2 separate regions of the Homo sapiens genome follow, and region 2 is linked to region 1. The links are contacts of gene promoters, found by promoter capture Hi-C in blood cells and fetal thymus (Javierre and others, 2016). All regions are on one chromosome and are shown on one strand. The core of a region is centred on a gene start or on the middle of the fragment in contact, and the rest is flanking DNA. Distances in the headings are between cores, read along the strand shown.

The links. The method cuts DNA at HindIII sites, captures the fragments that hold promoters and counts their contacts. A CHiCAGO score of 5 or more calls a contact.
Region 2: a contact is called between a fragment that was not itself captured here and the fragment with the promoter of DYNLRB2 in region 1, in 2 of 17 cell types (naive B cells and total B cells). The highest score is 6.4, in naive B cells.

Annotation. Positions count from the first base shown.
Region 1 is chr16:80,537,328-80,543,287 of GRCh38, forward strand. It overlaps DYNLRB2 (dynein light chain roadblock-type 2), which reads left to right and starts at 3,666. Exons shown (of 4, transcript NM_130897.3): 1 at 3,666-3,752; 2 at 5,949-5,960. The coding sequence starts at 3,750. The region is part of intron 1 of DYNLRB2-AS1 (DYNLRB2 antisense RNA 1); the gene reads right to left. RefSeq lists an enhancer at 3,717-3,806. The HindIII fragment of the contact is 6,420 bases long and covers 1-4,932 here.
Region 2 is chr16:77,724,316-77,730,275 of GRCh38, forward strand. It overlaps NUDT7 (nudix hydrolase 7), which reads left to right. Exons shown (of 4, transcript NM_001105663.3): 2 at 1,116-1,269. Among named protein-coding and RNA genes, the nearest start is that of NUDT7, 4.8 kb to the left of the region's middle. The HindIII fragment of the contact is 1,893 bases long and covers 1,059-2,951 here.

The sequences.
Region 1 (5,960 bases), core at 2,416-4,915:
ACAATATGAATTACAGAAATTTTTCCTAGGGAGGGTAAGAAGGAAGAGAGGTTGAGGAGAGGATAGTGAAGAAGGGAGACAAGATGGAAATGGGGGAAGGAAATGGGGAGGAAAGGTTAGAGAAAAGATGAGAAGGAGGGAGAGAGGAGGGAAGGAATGCAGGGAAGGAGGAAAGATGGACCAAAGAAAAGACAGAAGAAAGAAACATGGTTAAATGATCCACACTGGTCACCTGGTATGAGCCAGACATTTCACCCACATAATATTTAAACCTCGCATCTCAACCTTCTAAGGTAGATACTATCTTTCTTACTTTATAAATGAAGAAGCTGATGCTGTTTTTTTTATTGAAGGAAATATGCCTAGAAATGTCAACCCCACATGCATACAACTCCAAATCCTGTGCTCTAGGAAAACACTTAATTTCAACAGGAAGGATTCCCTTATGGAAAGCAAATACTTCTATTACACTTAGGTCTTGAAAGGAGTCACCCCAGAGGGTGCCTTTGTCCTAAGAAGAAGAAAATGATTGATTTTCTGAAACTTAAAATCTATAATACTGCAATTCTATGACATTGGGTCAGTTTTAGGAAATACTTATTGATATTACTGGTATCTTCTAATTATGCCCTAGTATTAAGGAGTATTTTATTTTATTATTTTATTGTACTTTTTTTATTTGAGACAAGTCTCACTCTGTCACCCAGGCTAGTGAGAGTGGTGTAACTGTGGCTCACTGCAACCTCAAACTCCCAGCCTCAAGTGATCCTCTTGCCTCAGCCTCCCAAGTAGCTGGGAATACAGGCATATACCACCACGCCCAGCCTTTTTTTTTTTTTTTTTTTGATTTTTAGTAGAAATTATGTCTTGCTTTGTTGCCCAGGCTGTTCTCAAACTACCGGCCTTAAGCAATCCTCCTGCCTCAGCTCCCAAAACACTGGGGTTACAGATGAAAGCCACCATGCCTGGCCTGTGAACATGTTAGAAGAATGTAGTGTCTATTTTCTGGAGGGAAACCAGTAGAATACCAGGAGAAGTTCTGGTAAGTGACAAACAATGCCTTACCTTATGAGAAAATGGGCACAAAATTTATTCTACAGCCCAGTTCATAATATTTGCCAACTGCCAAGAATGCCAAAGATAGCTATATGGGTTGGTATAGAAAATACCAAAAAAAAAACTCAAGATCATTAAGTTATCTGGATTTCTTCAAGCTAACCAGAGAGCAGTAGCAAAGTATCAAACAGCAAGAGAGACTCCCAGAAGAAAATCATCTCCTTCTAACAAAATCATATGTGAAAAATAGTGGACTTGGTCTCTGCATGTATCACTTTTGGGGTTAAGTCAGAGTACTTGCAAAAACTATTATTCACTAATATTTTCACTTACGTTCAAAGTTATTTAGCACTTATTGTGAGTCAAAAAGAAAGGCCGAGGGGATGGGAGAAAGAGGAGAGGGTAAAAGGGGAATTCACATATATTGGGGATGGAGTAGGAAACATGTAAGACATTGCAAAGACACTTTATATAGCACAGCTCTGGATATTCATTACAGGTCCAAAAAAGGCATGAAAATTAAACCGAGCTACCTCCAAGGAATAATTAGAAGTGAAAAATTGATAAAGGGGAAATGGCTCAAGTTCTCCTCATTGATTTTCTGTGCACAGAGTCAAACTTGACTGTTGGTTGGAAGTCAGTTTGGCTACTTCTTATTTCTTTTTCAGCAGTTGGGTTCTCCCGTCAGTGCGTTTTATGCTAGAATCGTTCTTTGCTCTAATTACAGCTGTCAGCTATTGAATGAGCTTGACATCCTGACTCCAGAAACAAGGAAATTCACACTCCATGCATATGCAGTTGGTTCCTTCATTAAAGCTGATTGACATATCAGACATGGTGCACTGTCACTGATTTTTGTAAGAAAAACAAACGGCTACACAATCAAGTGGAATCTCCTTGATCAGAAACACCCAGAGAACCCAAGAATCACTCTTCATTCAACTCAGCCAGTATTTCTGTAAAGACCTATTATTTGTATTACTGCAAAATGGTAGCTATAGTCAATCAGGTAAGAGCCAGATCTGTACACACATGCATGCATACACACACAAGCACACAAATGCACACGCACACGCACACACCAGACTCAGACTCCTTCCCCACAGCTATAGCAGTCCTTTCCAAAGCAACTTTGTTGGAGTACCAGGTGTTGAGAGTCAAGCGGGATTCTTTGGCTAGTAATAGTGAACTGGCTGAGATATACAGATTTCTTGGAGGGAAAAAAAGGAGAGAACTACAGTGATCAGAATCACCCACACCTCAACAAAAATTAGAGCAGAACTACAGTTTCTCAGAGTATTTCTGTAGTTAATATAATAAAATGACAGATGTGGAGTTGAAATGGATCATCGAGTCCAAGCCTGCCAATGAGTTCAAAACTGTCCCAGAGCACCCCTAACATGGACCATTCAGAATCCAGTTGACATTCCTAGCACGATGTATGCCTTGTTCAGTGTGAGACTACTTTCTGGAAATGGATGCACAAACAGAATCGGTATTACAGGAAGTTGTTATGGCATGATCCCTATGAAGATGCATTCCCAACTTACAGCTTGTATTTTGTAATCAATATTTGTCCTCCTCTAACCTCAGGAAGTCATAACACGACTCCAGCCATAAAATTTTCCTGCTGTGCTTCGTCGTACAATAGTGGCTCTTTTCCTCCTAGGCTATAAGGATATTATCAATGTCCCTCAAAAGGTCAAGTGACTTCTGATCATTCCTAACTGATCTTTAACGTGTTTCCTCCAACAGTTCCTTAAACACCCAATGGAATGCTCTTCTATGGCAACGTATAGAACCTCCGGAACTACCATTTGCAATTTTTTAGTAACTCAGAACTGTTGATTTTTAAAATGGCAAAAATACAGATCCTAATGGATACTGACAACTAACAGAAATACTGACAAGTAGCAACTCTTCAATGGAGTTGAGAACAGGAAGAGGGTGCTATAACTAGGTGAGAACATAAAATGTGCAACTGTGCTTACTCTACTGATCTTAGAGTAGACAGATAGAAAGTAATTTTTTTAAGTACATAAGGTTGTACTATTTGATGCTCTGATATATTTTTCTTCAATATAAAAACTACTGGGAGGCGAGCGAACAGTATCTGCCCTGAACAGGGCAGTACTAATGGACGGTCACAGGCAGCTAAGACTATCACCAAACCCCTAGAGCAGCCCAACCCCGAAGTCAGATGGTCCTGTCCCCTCCTTACTTGCTCCAGGGCAAGTATCACACGTGGACATTACTGCTTCCGGTACTGTTTCGTGCATTTTGTTTGGTGCATTTTGTCCGTCTCCCTGGCACCTGGTGGGTGGTGAATCAGCAGTTTTTGAACGAATAAGTGGTTATCACATTAATTCGTGCCTCAATGAATGAATGAATGGACAAACACAGGCCGGGAGCCTGACCCACTTCCCTCTTCCCTCCCGGGACCCACTGCTCCAGGATTGGGCGAACCTCAGGTGAGCGCCTGCTCCCCTCTTCCGCGAACCTTCGCCTACGGCGGCCGGGAGGCATCAGGAGCGCGGTCAGGGCGAAAAAGCCGACTCGCGAGCGCGCAGGCGCAGCCCTGACGCTTCCGTGGGGCCACTTCCTTTTTTGTCTCCTAGCAACGGCGGGTAGCGTTGTTGACATCCCGGGAGGCTGTGCCGCCGGCCTGAGCCCAGAGTTTCGCGGCCTCCGCGATGGTAAATCTGGGGTCTCCGTCCACGCCCCGCCGTTCCAAGCACGCCGACCGTCAAGGACCTTCGCACCCAGCTTCTGGGGCCCACCCAGGCACGGGCGGTCCAGGGGCCGCGGCGGAGGCTGGTGGCTCCAGGATCTTCCTGGAGGGGCGAGAGGGAGACCTTGGAAAGGGGCAAGAAGATGTCTAGATGACTGGAAGCTGTTTTGGGAATTGATTTCGCGGGGATGGTACATAAGGAGGGGTGATGTTGAGAAAGGGAAGAGAGAGATTCAGAGGATGAAGAATGCTCAGGGGAGTGAGAAATCCGGGGAGCCAGGAAAGTTTCCAAAGAGGGGGCGGGAGGCCGAGATGGAGAGGAAAAAAAATCAGACCCTTAGAGAGAAGGAAGAGGTGGGACAGGGAAAGCAAGGGAATGGAAGGGTGAGAAGGGAAGATACTGAGAAAGAAGAAAGGGAAATAAAGAAAAAGGAAAGAAGTGATGGGAGACCCGCCCCCCTCCCCCCCAGAAAAAGAGGTAAGAAAAAAAAAAGTAGAGACTGTGGAAAGCAAAGGGCGTTAAGAGAAGAATGAAACGGGGATTGGAGATGGGGATTAAGAAATTATACTAGGAGCACTTACAAATCATGAGAAGAGAAACAACTGGGTGGAGAAATGGAAAGGCCAGGGAAAGAAAAGAAAGGAGTTTGGGAGATAAGTAAAGGGAGAAAGATAAATAAGGACACAGTGGCTGTAAGAAGCTGTGGACATCGTCTTAAAGATTGCCCAAAATGCAGTGAATTATTGATCCCCTGTTCAACGCTTACGGTTTAGTGTAGTGTTTCTCAAAGTCAGATGCAAACATTCGTTGCTACATAAGATGGCCGAGAAATGCTAAATAAGAGTGAATCACATCGTGAGAAAGTTATTCCTCTTCCATTTTGTTCAACCTTCAGACTACATACAGGAGAAAATTTCTGTTGCTATTAGGTCCTTAATACCACTGTCATTTGGAAATTTCCATTTTTTCATCCGAAGAGCAGGCCTCAGGCTCAGAGCTTTCATTGCAGTAGAATTTAATGATAGGCTCTCTCTTCATTTTGTTCATTTTGTTTGTTTTACAGTTATTTCTATTTATGAGGAATAACGTCAGGTTTCCATTTGTGGTAGTGACATACGATTTCCTCTTAAAATGCATTTATTTAAGCTTTTAGCAGTGAGATAATTTAAAGAACACCTAGATAAATAGTATACATGGCATTCATAATGGCAAGAATCATGAATCTAGTACACAAATGCCTAAAGTCAAGAAAACCTTGGCTCTGATGCTGAAATAGAGAAAATAAGTGCTCCTGCCCATACCAAGTACAAAGGAAAACTATCTTGAAGTAACAAAATGTTCACCTGTGCAATACTGAGGAAAAAAGAATATAGCAAACCCTCATCAAGAGAATTTGCAGAATTCAAAATATCCAGTGATTGCTCAGTCATGAAAAATTTGCAGGTTTGGAAAAGATCGTTCTTGTCTTTGAGTTTTCTACAGGGGAAGAAAACATACAATACACTCTACACATAAGATTCCGAATGAGTTTAAAACACAATAATAGATTCCAGAATAATCACTCATAGTTGAACATTCAGCTTGCACTGAGACGCAAGCTATAGTTATCAAGAAAATCCTAGAATCCTGGAATACTTTGTTTTTATAGACTATCCTTTAAATTTAATCATCCGAACTGATTAGGTCACATTAATGAAAATAAGATTTCTCAATAAGGACTACTTTTAGACAGAGGGAGGCCATGATATAGCTCTATAAATATTTAAAGCACTGTAATGTAGAAAAGGAATTTTCATTTGAATACAGCAGGGTCAATGAATGAAAGATAATCTGGGACAAATTTCCATGCAATGTAAAGAATACTTTTCTAGTAAATGGAAACAGATAAAAATGGAGTGAACTCCTGTGAGGCAGTAAGCTCTCTGTCTCTACAAGGGTTCAAGCCAAGAGATTCATCAGGATTGTATCCAGGAGGTCTTACGTAGGTATTTATGTGGGACTTGACAATTTCTAAGCTGTCTTTTAAAAATCTGAGATTATCACACCTGGCACCTTAGGTTAAGGAGATAGGAGAGTAGGTATCTTGCTAAACATTATTCTCCTTAGGGTTGAAGTTACCACAGGGCCCTTTTGGTTAATTATCTTCCTGGTCTCTTTCAGGCAGAGGTGGAG
Region 2 (5,960 bases), core at 755-3,254, 2.8 Mb before region 1:
CAGTGGTGCAATCATGGCTCACTGCAGCCTTGAACTCTGGGGCTCAAGTGATCCTCCCACTTCCGCCTTCCAAGTAGCTGGGAATACAGTTGCATGCCCCATGCCTAAGCTAATTTATGCTTTTTTTTTTTTTCTTTTGTAGAGACAGGGTCTTACCATGTTGACCAGGCTGGTTTCAAACTCCTGGGCCCAAGCAATTCTCCCGCCTCAACCTCCCAGTGTTGGGATTACAGGCGTGAGCCGCTGCACTGGGCTCGTTTCTGCTTCTTATCAGGACAACAGTCATTGGATTTAGAGCTCACTTTAATTACATCTGAAAAGATCCTATTTCTGAATAAAGTCACACTCTGAAGTTTGGGGTAGACATGAATTTCAGGGGTGAGGGGATACTGTTCAACCCACTATACAAACTAGCAGTAGAACACACCTGTCAAAAGGACCAAAACAAGTCCACATAGGAAGGGCACCATTTGCGGTTTTAAATCCAAATGCTTGCATATTATTGGGAAATTGTTCTCAGAATGTGTTCCCCTGTCCACAGCGTCAGTAACGCTGTCATGAGGGAGTTTGATACAAATGCTAATTCTCAGGCCCTACACCAGAGTTACTGAGTCACAGTCTGGGACTGAACCTCGCAGTCTATGTGACAGCCAGCGCTCCAGGTGATTCTGTTGCTGCTAAAGCTTGGGAACCACTATTATAAGCAGTTGAAGACATAAGAGTTTGAGAACATAAGGGCCAGCTTAACAGAAGGTAGTCTTCTAACCTTCTAACCTTAACAATGACTTTTTCATCAAACCTGTCTTCTCTGAATATAATTATGGGTTTCAAAATTCAACTGTTGCATTATTGAAAAAACATTTTACCATACTTTATGTTTCAAAGAGAACCTGTGTACTAAACTGTGTGCTTAGAAGGTTTTTTTGTCATTTTCATCTTGCGAACAACCACGCAATTTAGATAGTATCATTTCTGTCGTGTTATTGAAAAATACACAGAGAGTCAGAAATGGCAAACTCCTAAATACACAACAAAGCAGAAACAGAGGCAGGACTATAAGCTTTTTACCATAACTCTGCTTGCTAAAATGTCTGTCTGGTTTGTTTTTATTTTAGAAACAGTTTGCTAGATGATGCTAAGGCCCGCTTAAGAAAGTATGATATTGGAGGCAAATATTCTCACTTGCCATATAACAAATACTCCGTCCTTTTGCCATTGGTGGCTAAAGAAGGAAAACTCCATTTGTTGTTCACCGTCCGGTCAGAGAAGGTAGGTGGACAAAAAATTTCCTGCCCTTAAACCTCAGGACATCAGAAGACCTCACGAGATTTTGTCACTTGCACACACTTTGATGCCAAAATTCTCAAAAGGGCTTTCAAAATTGTGATGTCAGAGGCATACAACCACAAGCCACAGGATAACATGGTGTTTCTTGGAGAAGGTTTAACAAGAAAATGAAGGAATTTAGCTAGCAAGCAGTTTAAAACGCTTTCACACTAGGGTTACCTAACCTTGGTGCTATTGGCATTTGGGGCTGAATAATTCTTTGGTGTGGAGGCTGTCCTGTATAATGTGGTGTGTTTACCATCATCCTTGGCCTCTACCCACCAGATGCCAGTAGCACACACAAACACAAGCTCACACACACCTTTGTCCCTTTGTCCAGTATGCCAGTAGCACACACACCACAAATGTCTTCAGAATTGCCTACTATCCTGGCAGGATTGGGGGTGCCAAATTGCCCCCCACCAAGGGCCACTGTTTTAGACTATCCCACCCCCAGTATAATGTGAAAATACTAGAGCATAGAAGTTAACGGCCTAGGCTCTAAAGCTAGCTGTCCACGTTGAATCCAGGCTCTCTCCTTGCCAGCTGTGACTTTGGCCTCGTTACTTGCCCTCTCTGTACTTCAGTCTTTTCACTTGTAAAATGAGGACAAAATATTAGTAACTGCTTCATACAGCTGCTATGAACATTTCACAGGGTAACAAATGTAAAGCACCTATATAACCCAGGTACTTGGCAAGGAAGAATTCAGTAAGTTTTAGCTGTCATCGTTAGTGTCAAGTGACCTGTCAGACATGACCTGAAGTTTTAAGATAAATGATGTCACTTTACAGAAATAATGGGCTGGGAATGGAGTTTCTGGCTCACCCCTTGTATTGGTCCATTCTTGCATTGCTATAACGAAATACCTGAGGCTGGGTATGGTGGCTCAAGCATGTAATCCCAGCACTTTGAGAGGCCAAGGTGGGAGGATCACGAGGTCAGCAGTTCGAGACAAGCCTGACCAACATAGTGAAACCCCATCTCTACTAAAAATACAAAAGAATTAGCCAGGCATGGTGGCACACACCTGTAATCCCAGCTACTCAGGAGGCTGAGGCAGGAGAAACACTTGAAACCAGGAGGCGGAGGTTGCAGTGAGCCGAGATTGTGCCACTGCGCTCCAGCCTGAGGAACAGCGAGACTCCATCTCAAAAAAAGAAAGAAAGAAAGAAAAAGAAATATCTGAGTCTGGGTAATTTATAAAGAAAAGAGGTTTCATTGAGTCATGGTTCTGCAGGCTGTACAGGAAGCATGACACAGGCATCTGCTCAGTTTCTGGAAAGGCCTCAGGGAGTGTACCATCATGGCAGAGGGGGAGCAGGAGCAAGAGAGAGAGCAGGGAAATACCACACACTTTTAAATGGCCCCGGATCTCATGAGAACTCACTCACTATCATGGGGACAGTGCCAAGATGATGGTGCTAAACCATGCGTGAGAAATCTGCCCCTGTGATCCAGTCACCTCCAACCAGACCCCACCTCCAACACTGGGGACTCCAGTTCAACATGAGATTTGGGCAAGGACAAATATCGAAACTCTACCACCCCCACACCCGTGAGCACAGTCAGTTTCCCTTGCTGTGGGGAACTTCCAAGGAAAAGCTGGTGAAGCAGTCATTTTAAGCTTATCCAAGTACAAAAAGAAAATAAGCCATATTAACAGGCTTTTTAAGCAGAATAATGAAAAGTATTTTGTTTAAAAAAAAAATGCCAAGGAATCAGCTGGAGTTTTGTGGACGTGGAAGTAGACTTGTGTGGATTGTGTTCGGTCTGAGCCAGGCAGAAATGCCGTGAACTCAGGACATGATAGAAATCCAGGTTCCAGGGGGAAATACTTAAATGGAAACCAGGGGACCAGTGTCTGTTCCCACCTCTGCCAATAAGCACAGGAGAAGCACTTACATATATTTTTTAAAATTATCAGATATGGCCGTGTGCGGTGGCTCACGCCTGTAATCCCAGCACTTTGGGAGGCTGAGGTGGGCGGATCACCTGAGGTCAGGAGTTCGAGACCAGTCTGGCCAACATGGCGAAACCCTGTCTCTACTAAAAATACAAAAAATTAGCCAGGCGTGGTGGTGGGTGCCTGTAATCCCAGCTACTGGGGAGGCTGAGGCAGGGAGAATCACTTGAACCTGGGAGGTGGAGGTTGCATTGAGCCGAGATCGTGCCACTGCACTCCAGCCTGGGCAACAGAGCAAGACTCCATCTCAATAATGAATAAATAAATAAAAATAAATAAATAAATAAAAGAGAATTGTCTAACAAACAATAATATAGGAAATCTAGACAATACTACAAACTCAACCAACGGGGTCTCTAGTTTCTTTTGTTTCACCCAGAGCCACTTTTGCCTGTTGATTATTAAGGTCACTTTTTAAAAACTATTTAAATTTAATTCAATCTGATTGTAAACACTATCTGGCTGTAGGGGTGAGAAATTCCCTCTGGAGCTCTACTGGAGCTCTGCCCCTCACACAAGCAGGGCGCTGGTAGGAGATTTCCCCCCAGTGGATGGGGAAAGCAAGGCAAGAAGTGGGTTAACCCTTCTCAAATGTGCAATCTCCCACTAGCTCTGGAACCTCGAACAAGTTTTTCTTTTTTTTCAGAAGGATTCTCGCTCTGTCGCCCAGGCTGGAGTGCAGTGGCGTGATCTCAGCTCACTGCAACCTCCGCCTCTTGGGTTCAAGCAATTCTCCCACCTCAGCCTCCCAATTAGCTGGGATTACAGGTGCACGCCACCACGCCTGGCTAATTTTTGTATTTTTAGTAGAGAGGGAGTTTCACCATGTTGGTTGGCCAGGCTGATCTTGACCTCCTGATCTCAGGTGATCTGCCCATCTTGGCCTCCCAAAGTGCTGAGATGACAAGCGTGTGCCACCACGCCCAGCCTGCAAAGTTCGTAAATCTCTTAATCACCTCGGTTTTCTCATCCCTAAAATGGGCCTGAAAACAGCGCCTCATGTGCAAGGTTGTTCTGAGCCTGAAAGAGATCTGTAAAACGCCCAGCACGGCTGCTGGCATGCCATAGTGCTGCATGCTGTTGGATGCTACCTATGTTTTCGTTATCTCCTTGTCCGGGTCCACCTTGGATAAGGGACTCCTCTCAGAACCCTAGATCCCTGGTGCCCAGCAAAGAGCTGGCAAACCCCTTTCTCCATTGCACACCTGGGCACAGCCCTTCAGGCCTTCAAAGCCACCCACTTTATAGTTTTCAGGAATTAGCTGCTCTGCATTATCGGTCCTGCTCTTCTCCCCCACACCCTTGACCTCGCATCCCTCCTCTGTCCCCTCTTCTACCCTCCTCCACCCTCCTCCCTGCACCCCATTCTCTGGGACTGGAAGTAGGCAAGAGAAAATTCAGGAACAAAGCAAAGATTGAAGTCTTAGGAAATTAGGCTGCAGCTTTACTTGGCCTCTGAGTAGCATTTCAGAAGGTTTTATTGAATAAGAAATGTATACTATTTATCAAAAAAATAACTGACCGCTTTTGTGCTTAGAGCCCTTTGCAGTGCTAATAGTTTTTGATTAGTCAGTTTTAGAAATGTGCCTGTTTTCTTCAAAACAGCGTAATATTTTCTTTTTTAAAAACAAAATTAAATAGATTTATCTTTTTAGATTTAAATAGATTTAACTTGTAGAGATTTATCCTGTACAATATGATGCTTTGAAGTATATATTCACTGTGGAATGACTAAATCTAGCTAATTAATTTACTACCTCACATCATAGTAACATACTACTTCACATAGTAACATATCACCACACACAATACCTCACATAGTAACATATTACTATACATATTACCTCACATAGTAACATATCACCATATACATCATATAGTAACATGTCATCATACATATTTTCTTCAAAATAGCATATTTTCTTTAAAAAAAAATTTAGGCCAGGCATGGCTCACACCTGTAATCCCAGCATTTTGAGAGGCCAAGGTGTGGGGATCACCTGAGGTCAGGAGTTTGAGACCAGCCTGGCCAACATGGTGAAACCCCATCTCTACTAAAAATGCAAAATTAGCTGGGTGTGGTGGTGCACACCTGTAGTTCCAGCTACTCGCGAGGCTGAGGCAGGAGAATCGCTTGAACCTAGAAGGCAGAGGTTGCAGTGAACCGAGATTATCCCACTGCACTCCAGCCTGGGCAACAGAGCGAGACTCTATCTCAATAAATAAATAAATAAATAAATTTTAAATCAACAGATAAAATTGTATAGATTTATCCTGTACAACATGATGTTTTGAAGTATATATTCACTATGGAATGACTAAATCTAGCTAATCAATGTACTAACTCACATAGTAACATATTACCACACACATTACCTCACATAGTAACATATTAACACATATACTACCTCATATGGTAACATATCACCACACACATTACCTCACATAGTAACATATTAACACACATACCTCATATGGTAACATGTCACCACACATAACATACTATCTCACATAGTCATCATCTTTGCACTAAGAACACTTTATATCCATTCAGCAATTTTCAAGAATACAGTATGTTAACTATAGTTACCATAGTATACAATACATCTCTCGAATTTATTCCTCCTGACTGGCTGAAACTTTTTATCTTTTGACCAACATCTCCCCA